Regions from separate parts of the Homo sapiens genome. Here region 1 is linked to region 2. The links are contacts of gene promoters, found by promoter capture Hi-C in blood cells and fetal thymus (Javierre and others, 2016). All regions are on one chromosome and are shown on one strand. Each heading gives the region's core, a stretch centred on a gene start or on the middle of the fragment in contact. The rest is flanking DNA. Distances are from core to core; before and after follow the strand shown.

Region 1 (6,075 bases), core at 3,576-6,075, 8.7 Mb after region 2:
AAGCAAGACTCTGTCTCAAAAACAAAACAAAACAAAACAAAAGACGGGCACGGTGGCTCATGCCTGTAAACCCAGCACTTTGGGAGGCCAAGGCAGGCGAATCACGAGGTCAGGAGATCAAGACCATCCTGGCTAACACGGTGAAACCTCGTCTCTACTAAAAATACAAAAAATTAGCCGGGTGTGGTGGCGGGCGCCTGTAGTCCCAGCTACTTGGGAGGCTGAGGCAGGAGAATGGCGTGAACCTGGGAGGCGGAGCTTGCAGTGAGCCGAGATCGTGCCACTGCACTCCAGCCTGGGCGACAGAGAGACTCTGTCTCAAAAAAAAAAAAAAAAAGTGTTTGGTAGCAAAGAGAAAAAAAGGTACCAATCGTCAAGTACTTTAAAAGGTTAAAAATGGAAAGCATGACACAGTAGTTCCCCATTATCCATTTGCTTTCTATGGTTTCTATTACCCACAATCAACCATAGTCCAAAAATATTAAATGAAAATTTTGGAAATAAACAATTTATGTTTTAAATTGCATACTATTCTGAGCAGTATGATGAAATCTCATAGTGTCCCACTCCAAACCACTCCACCTCACCTGAGACATGAATCATACATTTGTCCAGCATTGCCATACTGTACATGCTACCAACTCGATAGTCACTGAGTAGCCCTCTTGGTTAGCAAATTGTAAAAACATAGCATATATAGGGTTCAGTACTCTCTGCAGTTTCAGGCATCCACTGGGGGTTTTAGAATGTGTCCTTGGATAAGTAGGGACTATTTATTGTATGTGGCAAAATAGTTCATCCAGTTAATTTCATTCTTTTAAAGCTCTAAAATCCCACCATGTTTGTATTTTCATTGTATGCATAATACCTGGAAGGAACTACTTACTGGTGAATCACTCAAACCTTACATTAAAGAATTAAGATACAACAGAAAAGAATTCCCTAATTCATTAGTATATATAATGTAAACATTTAAAGGGGGGAAAAAAGAATGTTAAAAAGTCATTCCATACTATCATATAGAGAAAGCGGCACCTACAGAATACTATGAACATAAACATGGAAGCGATTAAGAGCTAGGATTTCTTAGAGTTTTACATACATAGATTCAAATATAGCAATGTCAGCTGTTATCAGTTATATAACTAAAAAATGACATAATCTCTCCAAGTCGTTTCTTCATCTGAAAATAGAAACAATCCATGGACTTCACATGGTTACTATAATGATAAATGAAACTACCTAACATGGTACCTGGCACTAAATATGCATTCGACAAATAATAGTTTTCATTACTATTGTTTCTTCAGTCATAAAAAGGTAATACATTTTAACTCCAAAATTCATGTTTGAGCTTCATTATCACTTGTTACCACTTCTCCAAAGAAATCATTATTGCTAAAGTTACTAATGACTTCCAAATTACCAAACACTTTTAGATATTTTCAATTCTTACTTGCCTTCCCTGCTTTTATGTCTTTAAAACCTCATTCCCTTAAGGAGTCTAAAAGAGATCCAGGAAGGGCAGGAAGTCGCAGAAACATTTAAGCATGGGCTCTCTCTCTTAACCACTTCTTCCTAGGGCATTATCGCTTCCCCTGTCCTTCAAACTGGGCTTCTCTGAAATAATCCTCAGTCCTCTACTTCATATTGTTCCTGATAGTTTCAATCCTTTTCATGCTTTTAACTCTACCGTACACATGATTATAAATCCCCAAATCTGTCTCTTGCTCACATATTTGCCCTAAACTCCAGGCCCATATTTCCAATGCCTATTGTACTTCTTATCTATGCATTCAAAAACTGCTTAAAGAAGGGGAAGAAAGCAAAGGAAATAAGCATTTAAAGACCTAATACATACGGAATGCTTTACATCAGACCAGTCAAGTAAACCACCTAAATCATACCACCAAGAAAAGAGGGAGTCAGACTTCAAATACAGATCTGTTTAATGATGAGGTCCGTGCTATTTCTGCTACGTTACACTGTCTTCTTCAGCGCATCCATAGTAGGTCACAAGGCATTGGGAATACAAAAATAATTAGGACCTAAATATTTTAGATAAAATAAAATACAGGTTCATGGATAATACTCAGGTGGATGCATAGCTAGTTTAACATATGTACTAACTGAACAAAACTTATGATCTATTACACAGTTCCTATTATCAAAGGGTCACAGTTTGGTAGAAGAGAGTAATTTTATTTAGGCAAGTAACTAAAACATATCATAATTATAAACCTATGGTCAAGATAAAACAAGTGACACATAGGAACGGGGAGTGCAGAAGAGGGGTCCAGGTAAGACTTTCTACAGGAGATAAACTATGTATAAACTAAGACTTAAAAGATGAGTACTGGCCAGGCACAGTGGCTCATGCCTGTAGTCCCAACACTTTGTTAGGCTGAGGCAGGCAAATCACTTGAGCCCAGGACTTTGAAATCAGCCTGGGCAACATGGTGAAAGCCATCGCTACAAAAAAAAATACAAAAATTAGGCGTAGTGGCACATCCCTGTAGTCCCAACTACTCTGGAGGCTGAGGTGGGAGGATCACTTAAAACTGGTCAGTCAAGGCTGCAGAGAGCCAAGATCATGCAACTGCACTCCAGCCTGAGCGACTGAGCGAGACTCCTTCTAAAAAAAAAAAGAGTACCATATGTGTTGGCCTGATAAATTCTGGGTGAGAGCACATTTGAAGCAGAAGGGATAGTAAATATAAAAGAACTAGAATCATCTTGGTCCATTCCAAAATTTCTAAATAATTCAGAAGACAGAAAGAAGTGAGGCCTAACATACACACAAGGATAGACAGGATTTTGAACAGCCTTATGTGCCTTTTCTTAGAGATTTAAAAAAAAAAGGGCAGGCAATCCAAAGACATACTTAGGATCTTGAATTGACAAGATGTGGTGGTAATTCCCAGGTTTCTGGCTTGGAGAACAGATAGGGAAACTAGAAAGAAGAGTAAGGGGTCAATACTTTGGAAGTGAGTAAAGCAAAACAAAATTAAACAACGGAAAAAACACACAAAAATTATAGGTGAAATTTTGTTTTATACATTATACACAGTGCTCTACATAAATATAATCCTTATTATTGCCCCTGTAAATATGATCACTTTCATTTTCTGATGAGGAGATTCATGTGAAAGTTTAAAAAGCCTACCTAAAATAATACCGACAGAAAAGTGCTCTTGATCCCACCTATTCTATGCTACCAAACTGCTCTCCCAAAAGGCAGTTAGAAAAATTTCAATGCAAGTAGTATAGTGTAGTAGAAAAAAGTACCATGGAATTCAATTCAAAATAATTGAATTCAAAAGCAGTTTGGTAGGGCAGCTGGAGACTCAAGCGATTCTGCCTCAGCCTCCCGAGTAGCTGGGATTACAGGCACACATCACCATGCCTGGCTGATTTTTTTGTATTTTTGGTAGAGACGGGGTTTCACCAAGTTGGCCTCGAACTCCTGACCTCAAGTGATCCGCCCACCTTGGCCTCCCAGACTGCTGGGATTACAGGCATCTTTTTTTTTTTTTTTTTTTTTGAGATGGTGCCACACTCAGTCGCCCAGGATGGAGTGCAGCGGCGCGATCTCGGCTCACTGCAACCTCCACCTCCCGGGTTCAAGCAATTCTCAGCCTCCCCAGTAGCTGGGATTACAGGCGTGAGCCACCGCGCCCGGCCTAAAAAATTTCTTGAAGTAAACTCTGGTTTGACTAAAGCTTCTGCAAATATTTGCAAATGTAATTATTTTTAGAAACCAGTTTTGTCCTCATCTACCTTGCCTCAATTTCTAAAACAAATAAAAGTTAAGGAATTCAAAATACAAAAAGAGAAATGATCAAGAGGGGGCTGGCAAGCCTGTGAATTTACACCACTTTATGGGCACTGAAACACTACTACTCATAAAAGTCATATCCTTTCAGTATTTCTGATAAATTTCAAATGGCCTACTTCGAGGCATAAGTTAAAAGGTGCTACATGAATCTCTGGCTAACACAGTCAAGTTTTATGAACTACGTTGGAAAACAGGAGTCAAGGACGGCCTATGTTACCTAATTCGCAGCTGAACTAAAACTCTTTGAGCCAGACAGCTCTGCCTGTTACAAAAACAAAGGGCCTGTCTTCTCTGTCTCTCTCAACCCTCCACCCTCCAAAAAGAATCAGTTCCTTTTTACATAGCAATCAATGTCCACTTATCAGATTTCACGACCTGCTTCCCCAGAGTCAGTATCCCCAGGGTGGACTCAAACTTGTGACTCCAGGAAGGGGATAAGGAACATGAGCGCCCACAGGAATGGCTTCAAATCCAAGACTCGAAGGAAAGTGACACTACATAACTATCACAACTAGGAATGCAATGTCGCTGGAGGGCGTGTCCAGCAGGACGGGAGCGTAGCGCATCGCCGGGACAGGCCATTCATTAGCTGAGGGGGGCGGTAGGGACCCTGGCCACTCGGCCCTCTCCGCGCCGCCTCGCGCGAAGCCCGGCAGCCTCGGGGCCACAGAGTCCCCTCCCCACGGTCCCCCCGCGCCGCCGTCCGCAGCCACCCGCACCCTCCAGAAGGCGAATACTCTCCCCCTGCCCCCGGGCTGAAGGGAAGCCGCACCGCACGGTCGGGCAGCGCCAAGCCCTCCCTCACCAGTCGCTAGATGAAACTGCGCCGGTGGATTCCGCAGGGTCCACATAGAGCCACAAAGGGACTCATCCTCAGTGAAGGCAATAAGAGAAACCGAACGGCGCCAGAGGGGCCAGTCCCCAGACCCGGGTCAGTTCGGCAGGCGGCTGCAATACAGCCGCTACTACAGGAATCGGGAACGGGGATGTAGAGGAAGGGCCCGAGCGGGCGGTTCCCAGTAATAAGGCGGGCGCTGGTTGGCTGGGGCTCCTGTATGTCTCTTGATGATTGGCTGGTGCCTGCCCAGAAGGTTTCGCGTGGCAGCACCTCTGCCATGGCCTTTTCCCTGGCGCCCCAAAGGAACTTGACCTCGCCGGCCTTGGGGCCGCTGACTCAGGCCAGGGGCGGGGAAAAGAAAAAGGCCGCAGCGGGGAACTCTAGGCCAACAACGGTGATGGGAGTGTCCCTTTCAGGCCAGCCATCTCGTAGTTAGAAACGTCTCTCTAGGTAGCTGGAGACTCGCGGGGGAGGCTAAACCCGAGTGGAGAAGGAGACCTGGCAGGATGCCTTGGACACCCGGTCGCTACGCAGCAGAAGCCAAGTGCATAGGCGTCCTGCACAGAAGAGTTTCCTCCCATGGCCTTAGCAGTGGGGTTACTGCAAAGCCAAAGGTGTAGTCTCCGTAAACCCAGCCTCACCCCTCTCTGGATCTCCATACACCCGGATTATCTGGCAGTCACTCCCTTGGTCAGAAGGCGTCACTGCCCTCTTAGATCACCACCGTAGGACTAGCTGCCGACCCGGGTCACGCCACTCACTGCCTGACACCAGGCTTACACTAGGCTTTTTCCACTTGAACTCTGAATCTAAAGGCCATTTAGAAAGTGGTCAAGTGAAAAATGCTAGGAGGGACAGTAGCCAATAATCAATACTAGGTTACTGAATGGGAAACACACTGCTGCTGAATGCCTAATACGGTAAGCACTCAGTAAATGATTGTTCAAGGAGGTGTAGTGTGACTCAAAACAAACGACACTAAGAATCATGAGTTGGCTGTACAGCTCTGCCACGTTGAGTTTTACAAGCCACTGAGTCGACCTCATCTAATCTCTAAAAGAAAGGAGTTGCGCATGTCTTAATGCCCACTGAGCTCTGCTTGCTCTCTTTTGAAGCCTTTTTTGTGGGAGGGTAGGTTACTAGCCCAAAGCCACACAGCTGCTTAGCGAAAGAGAAAGGGAGACTAGGACCCAGCCCTCCTACTGCCCTTCCCAGCACATAATTGTTTCTTTGCTCTTTATTCTTAATGTCCTTCTACAAAACAAAAACCAGTTTGTAATGTCAAAATTGAGTGGTTTTGAAAATAAGCTTAAGTTGGCCGGGCGCGGTGGCTCACGCCTGTAATCCCAGCAATGTGGGAGGCCGAGGCGGGCGGATCACGAGGTCAGGAGATCGAGAC
Region 2 (6,007 bases), core at 925-3,424:
AAGCATGCCAATTTGTGTAAGCATGAAATCGCCATTCCCAGAGCTTTTTAACAATGGTCTTGAAAGCCACTTACGTTAGCACTTGGCTCCAGCATGTTGTCACCATTCCAACCAGAAATTGGCACAAATGCTACTGTGTCGGGGTTGTAGCCAATTTTCTTAATGTAAGTGCTGACTTCCTTAACAATTTCCTCATATCTCTTCTGGCTGTAGGGTGGCTCAGTGGAATCCATTTTGTTAACACCGACAATTAGTTGTTTCACACCCAGTGTGTAAGCCAGAAGGGCATGCTCTCGGGTCTGCCCATTCTTGGAGATACCAGCTTCAAATTCACCAACACCAGCAGCAACAATCAGGACAGCACAGTCAGCCTTTAAAGAAAGCAAAGACATATCCCTGTCAACTCTCCAAATGACAAAACCAGTGTACAAAGCAAGCCTTTTGGGATAAAGAAACCTAGAATTATTAATCCCACCAACCTGAGATGTCCCTGTAATCATGTTTTTGATAAAGTCTCTGTGTCCTGGGGCATCAATGATAGTCACATAGTACTTGCTGGTCTCAAATTTCCACAAGGAGATATCAATGGTGATACCACGTTCACGCTCAGCTTTCAGTTTATCCAAGACCCAGGCATACTTGAAGGAGCCCTTTCCCATCTGTAAGGATTAAGAGTCGTTACTTGGTTACTAAAACACAAACTCCAGCTTCAATTTCCTTGTCCCCAGCCCTTAATTGGCAGTTTCCACTTTACAACTCCAAGTCCAAAGTGATTTTAGTCACTTTGGGTTACAGAAGCAACCAAAAATCAAACTTTTATAAGTCGGATCTTAACTATTAACATCCAAATCTACTCACTAGCAATACGATTACAGAAGTCACCAAAAGCAAAATTATTTCATAAGTAAGGTCTTAACTATTAGCATTCAGATCTAAACCACTCACTAGTTCTGGGGAAATCACCTAATGATTCTGCTGGTAAAACTCATTTTAGTTGATCTTTCCCTTTCTGGTATTAAACATACCTCAGCAGCCTCCTTCTCAAATTTTTCAATGGTTCTTTTGTCGATGCCACCGCATTTATAGATCAGATGGCCAGTAGTGGTGGACTTGCCCGAATCTACGTGTCCAATGACGACAATGTTGATATGAGTCTTTTCCTTTCCCATTTTGGCTTTTAGGGGTAGTTTTCACGACACCTGAAATGGAAGAAAAAAACTTTGAACCACTGTCTGAGGCTTGAGAATGAACCAAGATCCAAACTCAAAAAGGGCAAATTCCAAGGAGAATTACATCAAGTGCCAAGCTGGCCTAACTTCAGTCTCCACCCACTCAGTGTGGGGAAACTCCATCGCATAAAACCCCTCCCCCCAACCTAAAGACGACGTACTCCAAAAGCTCGAGAACTAATCGAGGTGCCTGGACGGCGCCCGGTACTCCGTGGAGTCACATGAAGCGACGGCTGAGGACGGAAAGGCCCTTTTCCTTTGTGTGGGTGACTCACCCGCCCGCTCTCCCGAGCGCCGCGTCCTCCATTTTGAGCTCCCTGCAGCAGGGCCGGGAAGCGGCCATCTTTCCGCTCACGCAACTGGTGCCGACCGGGCCAGCCTTGCCGCCCAGGGCGGGGCGATACACGGCGGCGCGAGGCCAGGCACCAGAGCAGGCCGGCCAGCTTGAGACTACCCCCGTCCGATTCTCGGTGGCCGCGCTCGCAGGCCCCGCCTCGCCGAACATGTGCGCTGGGACGCACGGGCCCCGTCGCCGCCCGCGGCCCCAAAAACCGAAATACCAGTGTGCAGATCTTGGCCCGCATTTACAAGACTATCTTGCCAGAAAAAAAGCGTCGCAGCAGGTCATCAAAAATTTTAAATGGCTAGAGACTTATCGAAAGCAGCGAGACAGGCGCGAAGGTGCCACCAGATTCGCACGCGGCGGCCCCAGCGCCCAAGCCAGGCCTCAACTCAAGCACGAGGCGAAGGGGCTCCTTAAGCGCAAGGCCTCGAACTCTCCCACCCACTTCCAACCCGAAGCTCGGGATCAAGAATCACGTACTGCAGCCAGGGGCGTGGAAGTAATTCAAGGCACGCAAGGGCCATAACCCGTAAAGAGGCCAGGCCCGCGGGAACCACACACGGCACTTACCTGTGTTCTGGCGGCAAACCCGTTGCGAAAAAGAACGTTCACGGCGACTACTGCACTTATATACGGTTCTCCCCCACCCTCGGGAAAAAGGCGGAGCCAGTACACGACATCACTTTCCCAGTTTACCCCGCGCCACCTTCTCTAGGCACCGGTTCAATTGCCGACCCCTCCCCCCAACTTCTCGGGGACTGTGGGCGATGTGCGCTCTGCCCACTGACGGGCACCGGAGCCTCACGCATGCTCTTCTCCACCTCAGTGATGACGAGAGCGGGCGGGTGAGGGGGCGGGAACGCAGCGATCTCTGGGTTCTACGTTAGTGGGAGTTTAACGACGGTCCCTGGGATTCCCCAAGGCAGGGGCGAGTCCTTTTGTATGAATTACTCTCAGCTCCGGTCGGGGCGGGTTGGGGGGGGTGGTGACGGGGAGGCCGCCTGGAAGGGACGTGCAGAATCTTCCCTCTACCATTGCTGGCTTAGCTCCAAAGGTTGTATTGAGATTAGGGTGTACCTTCGCCTCTCAATCAGCCTCCCGTCCTCAGCCTTGCCATCTCGCTAGTCCGGGACAAATCCCTAGAGCGTCTTCCTCTGCGGGTCTCAGCCCAGCCCGGGGTTGGCTCCTCCTCCGCCCCGGCTTCCGCGCCCCTCCCGTGTGGCAAGGAGTACCAGGCCCGGGGACCCCGAGGGGCTTGGGGCGAAGGGTCGGGACTGGGGGCCTCCTTAACGGCTCACGGACTTGCGAGAGGTTCGGCTCGATGGCCGTGAAAGCGACGAATCCGCTCCTGTGCTGGCCTCTTGGCTCCTTCCATTCAAAGCCAGCTGCTTTTATGGAAGCCCGTAACACGTCATCTCCCCCTGGTACTCCAGATGTCCAGGCTTTCAGTTTAGAATAGACTCAGTCCTACAGTTAGCTTTAGATCTAATTCTAGTTTTGTTACGCCAAAAAGTTCCTGCGAGTGTGTGTGTGTGCCTCATGGTACTTTTTAAATTAAAAGGTGTACAGTTATTTGATTGCAAACATAAGGAACCTAAAATGCTTTCAGATTTTCCACATGATCTCATGTAGAGGCTAAGATCTACAGCATCAGCAAGTTTATCCACCCAGTTTCCTAACCCCAACACTTGCTATGAAGTCACAGCTTCTCCTATTTAAATAAGTGCCTATTATATTTAAATAAGTGCTGTCGTTTTCTGTCATCCTATCGATTGTAACTGCATTTTAGCATAAATCTAGGGCAAGATTGGATGAGCTTGGCCTTTTTGGATGGCTATCAAGGCAGGCCTTGGGAAATGCTCCTCTGAGGAAAGAAGAACGTTTATTTTTAATGAGCTAATTACTAGATCATTATGTTTCTTCTTCCAGCTGTAGAATATCATTGCCCAGCTTCTCGAACAAACTTATTTATTAACAAGTATTTGAGAACCTACTATGTGGCCAACGCTAAGTACTGTGGAGTTCCTTCTGGAGAGGAAACCACAATCAAATTGGAAGAGGAAAACAAGTTGGGAAGCAGTTGAAGGCAAACGCTATGGTGCTTTCTTGGTTTCTGTATCTTTGTAGTGTAGTTTTTCTAGTCCTTTCAGTTTTCACAGTCCACTTTTTTTTCTTTCTTTCTTTTTTTTTTTTTTTTTTGAGACGGAGTTCTACTCTGTTGCCCAGGCTGGAGTGCAGTGGCGCGATCTCGGCTCACTGCAAGCTCTGCCTCCCGAGTTCAAGCGATTCCTCCTGCCTCAGCCTCCCAAGTAGCTGGGACTACAAGCGCGCCCCACAAATTTTTGTATTTTTAGAAGAGACGGGGGTTTCACCATGTTGGCCAGGCTGGTCTCGAACTGCTGACCTCAAGTGATCCACCCGGCTCGGTCTCCCAAAGTGCTGGGATTACAGGCGTGAGCCACGGTGCCCGGCCACAGTCAAAGTTTTTCCTCAAGCCCCTGTGATTGCGGATAATAGTAAACGCTTTATAAATACCTTACACAGAATGTTTTTTAAAATATCACGCAAGGAATGACAAAATTACATGAATCCTTGATTTATACCTAAGTAACATATTGTGCAACACAGACTGGGTGTTCTGAATGTTGCGATAGTGGCCGAGACTTTCATTAGGTGAAGGGAGATCTCAATTCTCGCGTTTAAGAACCAACACTGGACCGGGCGCGGTGGCTCACGCCTATAATACCAGCACCTTGGGAGGCCGAGGCGGACGTATAATTTGAGGCCAGGAGTTCGAGACCAGCCTGGCCAACATGGTGAAACCCTGTCTACTGAAAATACAAAATTAGCCGGGCGTGGTGGCGCATGCCTGTAATCCCAGCTACTTGGGAGGCTGAGGCAGGAGAATCGCTTGAGCCCGGGAAGCGGAGGTTGCAGTGAGTCAAGATCACGCAATTGCACTCCAGCCTGGGCGACCGAGTGAGACCTTGTCTCAAAACAAAACAAAAAACCAATACCTTTGAGCCCATCGGAGCCATATTATTGTGCGTTAGGGGTAGTCACTGGCCACGAGCATTTTCTCAGGGCAGAGATCACATTTCTGCTCTCAGTGGGGCCGGGGTGGGCCGGAAGCCGGAGAGGGACTGGAACGCCGGTCCGGGGAAGCCCCGCGCGCACCGGGGCGCACCCTGCTTCCTAGGGAGGGAGGCTGGGGCGGCAAGGCGGGCGCGGGTGGTCCTTGCCCCGCGCCAGCTCGCCAGGCCACGTCGCTGGCGTTTTTCCAGCGCTGGGTCACCTGCGGGCCGGCGGGTTCCCGCGGCGAACAGCTGGGTGGTATGGATACGCCGCTCGAGCCTCCGCAGCGTCAGGTCGCCAGGGTCCGCCCTGCCACTCGCCCCACCTTGAGGTAACTTTTCTTCCGCCTTCTGACTGCGGAAGGAAGGGCCTGGGAGGAAGCAGAAAACCTCACGTGGCTCGGGGTGAGGGTCGGTTTTTGTCACCGTGAGCTGGCCTCTAAAAGACTTTTTAAGTCCCAAGTCTTCTTTTTCTTCTTATTTTAAATCCCTTTTTCCCCAGACCCTATGTTTTCAACATAATCATAACGGATTCCCCGCACCCCTACGCCTTTACAGAGATCCAGTATGCTTTTTACTGCCTTAAATGTTAAAGCGGTAACAGTAACGATGTTGAGGCTCGTAAATGTGTTTTGGGGTCATAATCTAAGGTAGTATTTGCTGAAGATTTTTCTTAAACTTGCTCATAACCATTTAGAGTGACAAACTTAAAATACATTGTAAGTAAAAATCAACATGACCCCTTTTAGGAAGAAAAACAAAGATTTCAGTTATTTACATAGGAATAAGGCAAACAAGAATAGTTCTTTGAGGTACTTAATTGTGATTCACCAAGCTTTCAGTATAGTCTGACCACTCTGCTATTAGTCTAATTTAAAGCAGCCTTAAATAGTTACATTTTACCATGGCTTGCCACGTGAAAATGATTTTTAAATCTTTTCATCTGCTGTAGCTACCTCTGAAGAAAAGATGATGGCCCGGTGCGGTGGCTCACGCCTGTAATCCCAGCACTTTGGGAGGCCGAGTCAGGCGGATCACCTGAGGTAAGAGTTCGAGACCAGCCTGGCCAACATGGTGAGACTCCCGTCTCTACTAAAGATATAAAAATTAGCCAGGCTTGGTGGTGTGCACCTATAATCACAGCTACTTGGGAGGCTGAGGCAGGAGAATTGCTTGAACCCGGGAGGAGGAGGTTGCAGTGAGCAGAAATCGTGCCACTGCACTCCAGCCTGGGTAACAAAGTGAGACTGCATCTCAGAAAAAACTATATATATATATATATATATTTTTTTTTTTAAAGGGGTATTTTAGAATATGATTAAGCCAAGGAACTATTTGGACTGAGAATCCAATTTTTTTTT

Evidence for each region. Contacts are between HindIII fragments. The CHiCAGO score rates a contact against its expected background, and 5 or more counts as called.
Region 1: a contact is called between the fragment with the promoter of IBTK here and the fragment with the promoter of EEF1A1 in region 2, in 2 of 17 cell types (total CD4 T cells and total CD8 T cells). The highest score is 7.4, in total CD4 T cells.

Annotation. Positions count from the first base shown.
Region 1 is chr6:82,242,919-82,248,993 of GRCh38, forward strand. IBTK (inhibitor of Bruton tyrosine kinase) reads right to left here and starts at 4,826. Exons shown (of 29, transcript NM_015525.4): 1 at 4,644-4,826. RefSeq lists a silencer at 4,459-4,628. The HindIII fragment of the contact is 2,262 bases long and covers 3,721-5,982 here.
Region 2 is chr6:73,518,858-73,524,864 of GRCh38, forward strand. It overlaps EEF1A1 (eukaryotic translation elongation factor 1 alpha 1), which reads right to left and starts at 2,175. Exons shown (of 8, transcript NM_001402.6): 1 at 2,143-2,175; 2 at 1,026-1,199; 3 at 480-659; 4 at 75-371. The coding sequence starts at 1,169. EEF1A1-AS1 (EEF1A1 antisense RNA 1) reads left to right here and starts at 4,754. Exons shown (of 5, transcript NR_187283.1): 1 at 4,754-4,978; 2 at 5,599-5,689. RefSeq lists enhancers at 513-1,335, 1,293-1,592, 1,336-2,157, 1,883-1,992, 2,043-2,122 and 1 more and silencers at 2,703-2,932, 4,640-4,779, 4,820-4,999. The HindIII fragment of the contact is 5,848 bases long and covers 1-5,479 here.